Regions from separate parts of the Homo sapiens genome. Here region 1 is linked to region 2. The links are contacts of gene promoters, found by promoter capture Hi-C in human tissues and cell types (Jung and others, 2019). All regions are on one chromosome and are shown on one strand. The core of a region is centred on a gene start or on the middle of the fragment in contact, and the rest is flanking DNA. Distances in the headings are between cores, read along the strand shown. Region 1 has its middle 21 kb from the start of IER5L. Region 2 holds the start of TOR1B (torsin family 1 member B).

Region 1 (6,927 bases), core at 4,214-6,713, 640 kb before region 2:
ATGGTGGCTCGCCTGTAATCCCAGCACTTTGGGAGGCTGAGGCAGGCGGATCACGAGGTCAGGAGATTGAGACCATCCTGGCCAACATGGTGAAACCCCGTCTCTACTAAAATACAAAAAATCAGCCGGGTGTGGTGGCACACGCCTGTAATCCCAGCTACTCGGAAGGCTGAGGCAGGAGAATCGGTTGAATCCGGGAGGGGGAGGTTGCGGTGAGCCGAGATTACACTACGGCACTCCAGTCTGGGCAACAAAGCAAGACTCCGTCTCAAAAAAAAAAAAAAAAAAAAAAAAACCCTAACATTACTGAACCACAAAAGAAAAAGTAGTGGCGGGTCAGTTTTAACCTTGCTTTATGTTTTTCGTATTTGATTTTTAAATCTTTCTACCATATCCACATACTACTTTTGTAATAAGAAAAAAAAAGAAAGGAAACTGAATAAAAAGATCTCCCCGCTAACAAGCGCCGGAGGATGGTGCATCTTGGGCAGAGAGGAGGGGGCTTGTCCTTCTAGTCAGGAGGGAGAGGAAGGAGAGGGGCCTTGCTCACATCTGTTGGGATAAAGGAAGGGGAGGTGAGTTCTTGGTAGGTGCTTTGGCCCAGAGACCCCCTGAGAGGGAGTGGGCAGTCGGGGCTGGGGGATTCAGGGAGTGAGAGGTATTGGGGAAAAGTGTTTGAGAGTCCATGTGAGCTGGACCCAGGGAGAGGAGGCAGCCTAGATCCTGATTCCTCAGGGGGCCTTTGGACTGGGGAGAGTTGTGGCCAGCAGTTCCCTGGCGGGCATCTGCAGCCTTCCTGGTGACCTCTGGGACCCAGCTTCTGTTCTCAGGACCCCAGCACATGTGAGTTGGATCCAGAATTCAGTCCCAAAGTTGAGGTGCTCTTTCTCCTGCCTGGGCCCTGGATGGGGGGTTTGGTGGTTAAGAACCAAGGGACGAACGGTTCAATTTCTCTCAGTGCTTGTGATGCTGCTGGGAGTATTTTCCTGAATCCCAGTGAAGAGGCGAAGCCCCTGATGGGTCCAGCTTCATCCACCATCCTCCCCTGAGCAGGTGACATCAAGGGATACCTGGGACAACACCCAGGAGTAGACGGACCTGTGAGGATGGGGCTCAGAGCTGCGGCGATGAGACGTACTCCACAGTGGCTGGGGCTCTGGGAGGCTTCCTCTCCTGGCAGGGCAGCTGGCTGTATCCCCAGTTCTGGCCCCGAGGCCGGGCCTTTGCTGGCCTGTAGTGAGATCTCCCAGTCTGAGCCTGGACAGATTTCTTGACCCTTGTTATTTACATGAGACAAAGTTGGGGCTTTTCAAAAGGGACACTGCAAAGGCAGGCCGAGTGCAGCACCTCATCTCCAGGTAACTGGACCCAGCCCCGGGCAGGACAGGCAGGTGGGCGGGCTGCGGACGGAACAGCCTGCTCCTGCTCCCCACCTCTGCTTGGTGAGATTGGGCCTGGCCCTTGCTGGGCTGACGGACTGCGCACACCCTCTAGAGCCAGCTCCTGCCCTCTGCAAGGGGTGGGGAGCGTGGTGGCCAAGGTGTGCGTGGGCTCTGGAGTGGCTCTTGCATTTCCCTCTGTGTGACCTTGAGCCATGACTGAACCCCTCTGAGCCTCAGTTTCCTTACGTATAAACAAGGTAAGTAAACATGGCCTTACAGGGTGGATGTACCAGACACCGAACGGACACAGCCCAGGGCTTTGCTGGCACCGTCTCATTGAATCTCCGCAGGCCACCCTGCGAGGTGGGCATGTGGCAACCGAGCCATGGGGGAATTCCTTGGTGGTAAGTGGGTTTCAAACCTGGGCCATCAGGCTCCAGCGTGGACATTTCTTTCTTTCTTTCTTTCTTTTTTTTTTCTTTGAGACAAGAGTCTTGCTGTGTCATCCAGGCTGGAGTGCAGTGGTGCCATCTCTGCTCACTGCAACCCCCAACTCCTGGATTCAAGCGATTCTCCTGCTTTAGCCTCCCAAGTAGCCAAGATTACTGGTGTGCACCACCACACCCGGCTAATTTTGTATTTTTAGTAGAGACGGGGTTTCACCATGTTGGCCAGGCTGGTCTCGAACTCCTAACCTCAGGTGATCCACCCACCTTGGCCTCCCAAAGTGCTGGGATTACAGGCATGAGCCACTGTGCCCAGCTCAGTGTGGACATTTCTACCCACTGAGCCCAATAATGGCTGTGAATCTGTCCCACGAACGTTTACTGAGCACTTGCTCTGCCAGGCTCCAAGGAGACCCCAAGGACCATGGAGGAGGCAGATGCGGTTCCGTCCCTCATGGAGGTTTAAGGAGGACACGGGGCATGTGGGGAGCTGTGGGAATGTCGTGGACAGGGTGGAGAGCCTTCCTTGAAGGCAGGATGAGGGCTCCGGCAGCAAGGCTGGGAGGTGTGCTGGGTGTCTGGAGCTGGGGCGGTCGTTCCCTTGCTGGCTACTGGCCCCAGGCCTGGCTTCTGCCCGGACTGTGGTGGCCTGGCCATTCCTTCAGGAGTGGCTCCTGCCCTACTCCATGCAAATTCCTGGTCCCCATGTCTCAGTTGCCACTGCTGCTCCAGGCCCCAGCAGCTGTCTGCCCCCTGATGTCTGGGGGTTCCCGCAGCGAGCCTGGAGCTTGTGGCTCCTGCATGCGGCCTATGTGTCTGGCCCTGAGCTAAGTGCTTCGAAGCTTCTCTTGCCTCATCCTCACAATGGGCGCTGATGTCCTCATTTCACAGAAGGGTCTGGGGTCTCTTTCCCGCCAAAGCTCGTGCTCCTGCAGCCTCTCCACGGGGCCTGACCTGAGGGCTCGGGTGGCATGGGCTGCCGTGTGCTGCCTGTCCCCACTGTGGTGGCCTGAGAGCCCTCCTCCACTCCACTTCACTCTACCCCCTCCCCCTCCTCCTCCTCTTCCTCCTGCTCCTGCACCCATCTCTCCAGGACTGGCCCCAGACCCTGGGCTTCTCTGAGAGGCACCTCTTCCAAGGGCCCAGTTTCTTTTTGGAGGCAGGGCCGATTTGCACAAAGATGACGAAGACGCATGACAGCAATGACTCTCTGGCTGGTAGCGTGCCTCTTGGTGTGTGCAGATTGTGCTTTATGTGTCACCTCGTGGAGTCCCCACAGTGAGCCGAGAAGGTGGCATCACATTCCCAGTCAAGGGCTTTTGGTGGTGGGGCTCAGATCTTAGTGGCGTCCCAGGGCCTCCAGCTTGTCCAAGTGGGTTCAGGGTGGTGCCCAGGTTTGTCTGACACCAGGTCCTACAAAGGCCAGCATGGTGGGGTACCCGGAGCTGGGCAAGGGAAAGATTGGCTATGGCCACGTGGCTCCTTGTTCTCCCCAAGGCAGTCTGTCTCTGCGGACAGCCATCAGGCCCCAAATCCAGGCGTCATCCTTTTTATTTTTTGAGACAGGATCTTGCTCTGTCACCCAGGCTGGAGTGCAGTGGCTCGATTTCAGCTCACTGCAAACTTTGCCTCCCAGGTTCAAGTGATTCTCCTGGCTCAGCCTCCCTAGTAGCTAGGATTATAGGCCTGCACCACCACGCCTGGCTAATTTTGTATTTTTAGTAGAGACCGGGTTTCACCATGTTGGCCAGGCTGGTCTCCAACTCCTGGCCTCAAGTGATCCACCTGCCTCAGCATCCCAAAGTCCTGAGATTATAGGAGTGAGTCACCGTGCCTGGCCCAGGTGTTATCTTTTTTATTTTTATTTTTTGAGACAGAGTCTTGCTCTGTCGTCCAGGCTGGTGCAGTGGCACAATCATAGCTCACTGCAGCCTTGGCCTCGTTTACCCTCTATTGCTTGAGAGTTTACTCTCCTGGGTCCACACCTGGGACTACAGGTGTGCACCATTATGCCCAGCTAAATTTAAGAAACTTTTTTTCTGTAGAGACAGGGTTTCCCTATGTTGCCCAGGCTGGTCTCAAACTCCTGAGCACAAGTGATCCTCGTGCCTCGGCCTCTCAAAGTGCTGGGATTATTACAGGTATGAGCTACCATACCTGGTGCAGGTGTTATCCTGAATTCCTTTCTTTTCCTCTACCTCTCAAATCCAACCCATGAGCAGGTCCTATTGGGTCTCCCTCCAAATTGTAACCCAAATCTGCCCGCAGCCAGGGAGCACGGTCAGCTCTCCCAGGAGCGCTGGCCAGCAGCATCTCCTCTCTGCTCTCCTGACTCCACTCTGCCACTGTCCCTGGGCTCTACCCTGAGGTGCTTAAAGGTGATTCTACCCTGAGGTGCTTGAAGGTCACTCCCATCAGATCCCTACTTGAAGGGTGGCTCCTGACTGTGCACAGAAGGCCCCACGAGGTGATGAGCCACTGTGCCCCCGCCCCACTCGCCCACTCCCGTACTTCAGTCATGTTGCCCTCTCTCTGGTCCTCCAGAATGTCTTTTTTTTGTTTGTTTTTGAGACAGAGTCTCGCTCTGTCACCCAGGCTGGAGTGCAGTGGCGCGATCTCGGCTCACTGCAAGCTTCGCCTCCCGGGTTCACACCATTCTCCTGCCTCAGCCTCCCGAGTAGCTGGGACTACAGGCGTCCGCCACCACACCCGGCTAATTTTTTTGTATTTTTAGTAGAGACGGGGTTTCACCGTGTTAGCCAGGATGGTCTCGATCTCCTGACCTTGTGATCTGCCCGCCTTGGCCTCTCAAAGTGCTGGGATTACAGGTGTGAGCCACCATGCCCTGCCTGGTCCTCCAAAATGTCAAACTTGTTGCTGCCCCAGGGCCTTGGCACTTGCTGTTTCCTTGGCTTGCACTGCTTGAGCCCAGGCTGAGCAGAGGCACCCTCTGGTTGTTCAGGGCCCAGTTCAGATGCCACCTCCCGAGAGAGGCGTCCCAGCTTTCTTTTTTTTCTTTTTTTTTTTTGAGATGGAGTCTCGCTCTGTCCCCCAGGCTGGAGTGCAGTGGCGCGATCTCGGCTCACTACAAGCTCCGCCTTCCAGGTTCACACCATTCTCCTGCCTCAGCCTCCCGAGTAGCAGGGACTACAGGCACCCACCACCACGCCCGGTTAATTTTTTGTATTTTTAGTAGAAACGAGGTTTCACTGTGTTAGCCAGGATGGTCTTGATCTCCTGACCTCGTGATCCACCTGCCTCGGCCTCCCAAAGTGCTGGGATTACAGGCATGAGCCATTGTGCCCGGCCACACTCCAGCTTTCTCTGAGTTGCTCCTAACTTGAGCCTCCATCCGCCCTCTGTTCCAGTTGCCTTCATGAGCCCAGTTTCATCTCAAGTTTTATTATCTATGAACTTGTTCACTTGGTGATCATCTCCCTCTCAGTGGATGGTAAGCCCAGTGAGGGAGGGCACAGGCTTACTGTGGCCAACACTGGGCCCCCAGCACCAGGAGTAGGGGCTGGCCCAGACTACGTGGATGCCCAGTTACTACCTGCTGAACCATGAATGAATGAATGAATGAATGAATAAAAAAGTAAGTCCTCTGTCCCTGGTGTTATCCTAGAAGAAGCTGAACAACAGGTGCTGACCAGGGCCTTGGCTGCAAAGTTGCTCTCCCCTTACTCCAATGCAGGAGCTCTGGGGGTCCCGTGGAGGGCCCTGCGGGCAGGACAGCTTCCCAGTGTCCCAAACTCTGAGGGTTTGTGCTTCTGCAGCTCACTCCCAAGTTTGGGCAGCACCCTTGATGGAAACGGGCAGACTGCATGGACTTGGCCTCAGGCAGGTGAAGTCCGTGGGACATTCCCAAGGTTGGAGAGGCAGAGCAGCAAGGGAGAGGCTAAGTGGGAGTCACGCTGCTTTTGATAAACTAGTGATGCCAGCCGGGTGTGGTGGCTTACACCTGTAATGCCAGCACTTTGGAAGGACAAGGGGGTCCGATCACCTGAGGTCAATAGTTCGAGACCAGCCTGGCCAACATGGTGAAACCTTGTCTCTACTAAAAATACAAAAAATTAGCTGGGTGTGTTAGTGGGCACGTGTAATTCCAGCTACTTGGGAGGCTGAGGTGAGAGAATCACTTGAACCCAGGAGGCGGAGGTTGCAGTGAGCCGAGATCATGCCACTGCACTCCAGCCTGGGCAACAGAGGGAGACTCTGTCTCAAACAAACAAAACAACAAGAACAACAACAACAAAAAAACTAGTGATACCACCTGCCTTGGCAGGATAAAGGTCCCAGTGCTTGTCTTGGCACCCAAGGAGCAGTCGAGCCCCCTTTGCTGGCCTCCTTGCCTTCCTCTGGAACCTCTGCTTCAGTGACAGAGCCAGGGCTCATTCACAGCTATGTTCTCAGTGCCTGCCTGACCCACAGAAGTGTTTTGTTGTTTTTTTTTTTGAGACGGAGTCTGGCTCTGTCACCCAGGCTGGAGTGCAGTGGTGCAGTCTTGGCTCACTGAAGCCTCCACCTTCTGGGTTCAAGCGATCCTCCCACCCTAGCCTCCCAAGTAGCTGGGATTACAGGCACGCACCACCATGCCCAGTTAATTTTTATATTTTTAGTAGAGACAAGGTTTCACCATGTTGGCCAGGCTGGTCTCGAACTCCTGACCTCAGATGATCTGCCTGCCTTGGCCTCTCAAAGTGCTGGGATTACAAGCACAGTGAGCCACTGTGCCCGACCAGAAGTGGGTTCCTTCCATGCGCCATTCCCTCCAGGTGCTGGGGACAGAGGGGTGAACTGGTGAATTTCCTGCCCTTGTAAAATTTGCGTCTAGTGAGGACGATAGACAAATAAATATACAGCAAAATACTGGGCAGCGATAAAGTCTATGAAACAAGGGTAATTGTGATAGAGAAATATTATTTTGAAGGGGGTAGTGAGGGTGGCACTTGAACAGAGACCTCAGTTCGTGACAGAGATTACCCTGAAAGGAGCTGAGAGAGCATTCCCGGCAGAGGGAACAGCAAGTACCAAGGCCCTGAGGTGGGAACAGCTTTGACACTTGGGGAACAGCAAGGAGGAGGCTACAGGGCATTGAG
Region 2 (6,841 bases), core at 1,220-3,719:
CTTCCCACGGCCAACTTCTATTCTTTTTTTTTTTCTTCTTTTTTTTGAGACGGAGTCTTGCTCTGTCGCCCAGGCTGGAATGCAGTGGCGCAATCTTGGCTCACTGCAACCTCTGCCTCCTGGGTTCAAGCCATTTTCCTGTCTCAGCCTCCCGAGTACCTGGGATTACAGGCGCGCACCACCACACCTGGCTAATTTTTGTATTTTTTGTAGAGACGGGATTTCACCATGTTGGCCAGGCTGGTCTCGAACTCCTGACCTCAGGTGACCTGCCTGCCTCGGCCTCCCAAAGTCCTGGGATTACAGGCATGAGCCAGTGCACCTGGCCCTTCCATTCATTCTTTAGATCGCAACTGAGATAGGGAGGAGAAGATCCCTCCCCACCCACAGGCCTCTGTGCATCCTGCATTACAGCCTTGGCCCACCCTGGACATAAGCTGCCTGCTTGCTCATCTGTCTCCCTGACTAGTTACCTGGACCACGGCAACAGCCTCTTCACTGGCTCTCTGCCTTCCATTTCTTGTGAACCCAGCAGCCAGAATGATCTCTGATCTGACCATGTTGCTTCCTGTGTAAAACCCTCTGTGGCTCCCTATTACCCCCCAGAACAGAGGCCAAACTCCTTACAACATTCGCAAGGACTTCACCTTCCAGTCTCTGCCTGATTCTTCATCCCTATCTCTCACCACCTTCCGCCATGTGGAATCCTTTCAGTTCTCCAAACTGACTGTTGTTTTCTGCCTAAAACACTCTACTCATTTTTTGCCTGGCCTAACTCCCTCAGTGCCCAGCTTAGACAAAAGCCTTCCCTGTACCACTGTCCGATACTTCTCTGCCCACTCAGCATTGAGTCTCACCCCTTTGTCGGCCTCCCCCATAGACCGTCAGCTCTGAGAGGGCAGGGGCCAACTCCGTCCCCTCCTCTGCTGTCGTTCCTGGCATCCAGCAAGGGGCCTGCCACCTAGCGTGCTGAATGAAAGAATGGACCTCGGGATTTCAGTGTGGAAGCCTGGGCAGGTCTGTCTTGGGGCCGCTGCATCCCCAGTGCTCAGTCTAGGGCGCAGCACGGAGAGTTCGCAACTGTTTCAGGAAGAAGGCAGGCGGGTGGGCCGACCCAAGAAACGCACATTATACCTCCGGCGAAGTGAAGGGAGGGATAACAAAGCAAAGCTTGAGGGCTCCGAGAAGCTCTGAAGAAAACAAATCCAGCCATAAGCCCACTCCTGTAACCCCAGGCTTTGGAAGACGGAGGCAGGTAGATCGCTTGAGGTCAGGAGTTCGAGACCAGCTTGGGCCACATGGCGAAACCCCGTCTCTACTAAAAACACAAAAGTTGGCTGGGCGTGTTGGCGGGCACCTATAATCCCAGCTACTCCAGCAGCTGAGATGGGAGAATCGCTTGAACCTGGGAGGAAGAGTTTGCAGCGAGCCGAGATCCTGCCACTGCGCTCCAGCCGGGGCGACAGAGCCAGACCCTGTCCCCAATATACATATCAGATAAGAAAAAAATATAAGAAAGTTTAAAAAAATTTTTTTTGGCTTTTTTTTGTTTTTTTTGAGACGGAGTCTCGCTCTGTCGTCCAGGCTGGAGTGCAGTGGCACGATCTCGGCTCACTGCAAGCTCCGCCTCCCAGGTTCACGCCATTCTCCTGCCTCAGCCTCCCGAGTAGCTGGGACTACAGGCGCCCGCCACCATGCCCGGCTGATTTTTTCTATTTTTCGTAGTGATGGGATTTCACTGTGTTAGCCAGGATGGTCTTGATCTCCTGACCTCGTGATCCGCCTGCCTCGGCCTCCCAAAGTGCTGGGATTACAGGCGTGAGCCGCCGCGCCCGGCCAGCCTTTTTTTTTTTTTTTGAGACAGTTTCGCTCTTGTCGCCCAGGCTGGAGTGCAGTGGCACGATCTCGGCTAACTGCAACCTCCGCCTCCTGGGTTCAAGAGATTCTCCTGCCTCAACCTCCCGAGTAGCTGGGATTACAGGCGCCCGCCACCACACCCATCTAATTTTTTGTATTTTTAGTAGAGACGGGGTTTCGCCACGTTGAGCAGGCTGGTCTCGAACTCCTGACATCAGGTGATCCGCCCGCTTCAGCTTCCCAAAGTGCTGGGATTACAGGCGTGAGCCACGGCGCCCGGCCAAAAAAAAAAAATTTTTTTTTTTTTTTTTAGATATTTTTTCACTCTTGTTGCCCAGGCTGGAGTGCAATGGCGTGATCTCGGCTCGGCCTCCCAAAGTCCTGGGATTACAGGCGTGAGCCACCGCGCCCGGCCCGAAAAAATTTTTTTAAAAGAAAAGGGAAACAAAACAGTCTCCTACACCTTCGGACCACTCCCAAGAACGATGGCACCGCCCTCCTCTCCGCCCCTCACCAACATGGCCGCCCCCAAGGGAGTGGGCGGGTCTGCGGGGCGGAAGTGACGCACGAGAGGAAGTCCGTCCTGCCGCTTGGCCGCGGGGCGCCTGGCTCAGTGGCTTCTGCGGGCTTCGAGGAGCGGGATGTTGCGGGCTGGGTGGCTCCGGGGCGCGGCGGCGCTGGCGCTGCTGCTGGCGGCCCGAGTGGTGGCGGCGTTCGAGCCCATCACCGTGGGCCTAGCCATCGGGGCCGCGTCGGCCATCACCGGCTACCTGTCCTACAATGACATCTACTGCCGCTTCGCCGAGTGCTGCCGCGAGGAGCGGCCGCTCAACGCTTCGGGTACGGCGCGCGCGCGAGCTGTGGGTCGGCGCTGCGGGGGGCGCGGGGGCGCGGGGGCGCGGAGGGACGGCCTCGTGGGCGCCTGGCACGGACCGGGCCCGTGGCATCTAGACGGCGGTGGTCCCAGCTGGGGTGGGCGGGGAGCGGATGGGGCGGCCCCGGAACCGTTCGCGGGAACGCAGAAGCGGTGCCTTCGCAAACAGTCTCCAGATCGTGGGGCTGCCCCAGCGCCTTTCTAAAGCTCCCGTTCCTTGGGATCACAGGTGGAAGAAACGGAAAGTAGGCGGGCGGCCCTTCTGCGCCCTGCCAACCCTATTAAGTAGTTTTCAGACGTGCTGCGTCGCCCAGAAAGCCCACATTTGGCCCCTGGTTTTCCTGCAGGTCAGCAAGGGTGGCTGGGATTAGCAAGCGCTCAGTCAAGCGATGGTTCATCTCTGAATGAATGAACATTTAGCTTCCTTATCAGACCCCGAAGCGTTAAGGACCTCCACATAATCTTGAAAGTGGCATCGTTTGACTGCCTCGGCCCTAGGGTGTGGCAGACACCCTGCTGTGTCCCTGGATAATCTGTGCTTCTTGCTTTGGCCAGCTAAGAAAGTGCTGCGTTGCTGATGCATTTTTAAGGTCTGTTTCTCTCTTTGTTCTGGGGCTGTTCTTGCAGCTCTCAAGCTGGATTTGGAGGAGAAGCTGTTTGGACAGCATCTAGCCACGGAAGTGATTTTCAAGGCGCTGACTGGCTTCAGGAACAACAAAAATCCCAAGAAACCACTGACCCTTTCCTTACACGGCTGGGCTGGCACAGGCAAGAATTTTGTCAGTCAAATTGTGGCTGAAAATCTTCACCCAAAAGGTCTGAAGAGTAACTTTGTCCACCTGTTTGTATCGACTCTGCACTTCCCTCATGAGCAGAAGATAAAACTGTACCAGGCAAGAGAACCCGCTATTATCTCGTCTGCAGGCCAGTCGGACTGGTCCGGGTGACCTGCTCACTAACTCTGGCCTCTGCTTCTCTTTCCTTTGTGTTGCTGTAGCCCCCGGCTCCACTGAGTTAAGGCACACTTAGTCCAGGTAGTTACAAAGCTCTCCTACAACATTTCTCTTACTTGGTTCCAAAACAGTCCAGTGGGGTAGGGGATGTTATTTCCATTAAAAGATGGGGAGCCAAGGGCCTGGCGCCGTGGCTCACGCCTGTAATCCCAGCATTTTGGGGAAGCCGAGGCGGGCGGATCATTTGAGGCCAGGAGTTTGAGACCAGCCTGGCCAACATGGTGAAACCCCATCTCTACCTAAAAGTACCAAAATTACCTGAGCACGGTGGCACGCACCTGTAATCCCAGCTACTTGGGAGGCTGAGGCAGGAGAATCGCTTGAACCTGGGTGGCAGAGGTTGCAGTGAGCTGAGATCGCGCCACCGTACTCGGTCTCAAAAAAAAAAAAAAAAAAAAGGCCTGGCACAGTGGCTCACGCCTGTAATCCCAGCACTTTCGGAGGCCGAGGGGGGCGGATCACGAGGTCAGGAGATGGAGACCATCCTGGCTAACACGGTGAGACCCCGTCTCTACTAAAAATACAAAAAATTAGCCGGGGATGGTGGCGGGCACCTGTTGTCCCAGCTACTCGGGAGGCTGAGGCAGGAGAATGGCCTGAACCCGGGAGGCGGAGCTTGCACTGAGCCGAGATCGCGCCACTGCACTCCAGCCTGGGCGACACAGTGAGACTCTGTCTCAGAAAAAAAAAAAAAAAAGAGAGATGTAGTCAGGGCCAGGTGCAGTGGCTCACGCCTGTAATCCCAGCACTTTGGGATCCGCCAAGGCGGGCGGATCACCTGAGGTCGGGAGTTCGAGACCAGCCTGACCAACATGGAGAAACCCCGTCTCTACTGAAAATACAAAATTAGCCGGGCGTGATGGCGTGCGCCTGTAATTCAAGCTACTTGGGAGGCTGAGGTTGCAGTCAGCTGAGAATGGGCCACTGCACCCCAGCCTGGGCAACAGAATGAGACTCTGTCTCAAAAAAAAAGAAAAAAAAAAAAGATGGAGCCTGGAGCCCAGAGGCAAGGTGACTTACTCCTACAATCTTTGTAGCAGAACAGGACCTTTGTAGCAGAACCAAAACCTCCCAACTCCCAGTTGACATGGTAGCCACCTTCTCTGGTGAGTGAAGGGATTCCACATCCCCAGCAGTGCAGTTGGTGAGAAGGGGCAGTCAGTCTTCAAGGATTTGCTCCGGTGTGGCTTCATTCAATGCTGCCCACCTCTGGTGCAGCCTCAGCTTTGCCTCTGCTCTTTGCAATGTAGCCTAGAGGTCTTTTTTCTCCTTAACAGGTTTTATTCCCTTTGTTCCTCCCATCCTTCATGTCCTTGGCATTGCTTTCTTCAAAGGAAGCCTCAAAGAACTGAACCTTGAGACTGTTTCTCCTTTTGAGATATTGTTTCCACATTCATTTTATATTAAGTTGTCTAGGAGGGTTAGTTCTCATTTAAATGAATGTTGTCCTTGTCAAGGTTAACATTCCCACTGGCAACATAGCAAGACTCCATCTCTACAAAAAATAAAAAAATTAGCCAGGTGTAGTGGCATGCACCTGTAGTCCCAGCTACTTGGGAGGCTGAGATGGGAGGATCGCTTGAGCCCGGGAGGCTGAGCCTACAATGAACCATGGTCATGTCACTGCATTCCAGTCTGGGCGACAGAGTAAGACTCTATCTCAAAAAAAAAAAAAAAAAATTCCTCCTGTTAGGTGGGGACTGAAGAAAGAAATAGAAACTTAACTGAACAAGGAAGTAGAAGTGTTTGCCCAACAAACTGACGTGAGACAGGGAAGACTGCTAAAAAGGAAGGAAGGAAGGATTTTCTTGTTCTTTACATTCTTCATAAATCTCCGGAAACAGAGTAATATAAATGGTTGAGGGCATGTCTGGGGGAGTTTCCTGGTATAGCCTTTCACGCTTTGGGGTTGAGGGCTTGTTGCTTGAGTGTCTTTATGTTTGTTTGAAGAAAACATCTGGAACAGATGCTTTTCATGAAATGTCATTGAGTCAGCTCTGTTGGTCTGGGGCACTGTGTACTGTGCAGGTCTTGATCTAGTTCCTTATTCCTCAGTATGTCTGATAGTACTAACTTGAGATTGTAGTCCAAGAGAGATGAAAACTATGGCTACGTTAGCAGTGAATGATATTCACGGATCTTGCCGGGTGGCTCATTCCTGTAATCTCAGCACTTTGGGAGGGTGAGGTGGGTGGATCACCTGAGGTCAGGAGTTTGAGACGAGCCTGGCCAACATGGCACAACCCTGTCTCTACTAAAAATACAAAAATTAGCCAGGCATGGTGCAGGGGATCGGGGCGCCTGTAGTCCCAACTACACGGGGGGCTGAGGCCGGGGAATCGCTTGAACCCAAGAGGCAGAGGTTGCAGTGAGCTGAGATCACGCCACTACACACCAGCCTGGGGGATAGAGTGAGACCCTGTTTCCAAAGACAAAAAAGAGAAGAAAAGAATCACGGATCTTGTACCTCTTATACCTTTAAAAAGTCAGATTTAATAGTCATTTGAGTTAGGAAAAAACTTCTCTGCATTTTAGCATCTATCTCTGCCAATTTCCACTTTTTAGAGATAAGGTTTTAGAAAAGCTGCTACCTAGCGAGTGGGGGTGAGGGTGCCATTCTAAGAGCTCTGACCTCGTCCTTCAGTGCATGAGGAGCAGATGGAGCCTGCGCGCCTCTTGGTGCACCCTTTGAGCTTCGCATCCTGTTTCTTCTTTCATGGTTGGTCCAGGACCAGTTACAGAAGTGGATCCGCGGTAATGTGAGTGCATGTGCGAACTCTGTTTTCATATTTGACGAGATGGATAAATTGCACCCCGGGATCATTGACGCAATCAAGCCGTTTCTAGACTACTACGAGCAGGTTGACGGAGTGTCTTACCGCAAAGCCATCTTCATCTTTCTCAGGTCAGCGGGAGGCGGTTTTTTGGGGCACACAAGCCCTTCATTCTCTCAATGATAAAATGAGGTCCTGAGGACCATCAGCACTTTGTTTACCAGGACGAAAGTGCCTGCTTGGCACAAGGCACTTACCTACTGCTTTACTTTTCCTTTGCCAGTCTCAGCATGGCACACAGTGTGGGTTGTGGAAATGAACTA

The links. Contacts are between HindIII fragments. The study calls those that stand out against the background at their distance.
Region 1: a fragment that was not itself captured here is called in contact with the fragment with the promoter of TOR1B in region 2 in 1 of the 25 tissues and cell types used here (dorsolateral prefrontal cortex).

The regions. Positions count from the first base shown.
Region 1 is chr9:129,153,873-129,160,799 of GRCh38, forward strand. No RefSeq gene overlaps it. Among named protein-coding and RNA genes, the nearest start is that of IER5L, 21 kb to the right of the region's middle. The HindIII fragment of the contact is 3,797 bases long and covers 3,566-6,927 here.
Region 2 is chr9:129,800,715-129,807,555 of GRCh38, forward strand. TOR1B (torsin family 1 member B) reads left to right here and starts at 2,470. Exons shown (of 5, transcript NM_014506.3): 1 at 2,470-2,697; 2 at 3,359-3,624; 3 at 6,474-6,649. The coding sequence starts at 2,499. RefSeq lists silencers at 2,550-2,679, 2,740-2,859. The HindIII fragment of the contact is 20,911 bases long and covers 1-6,841 here.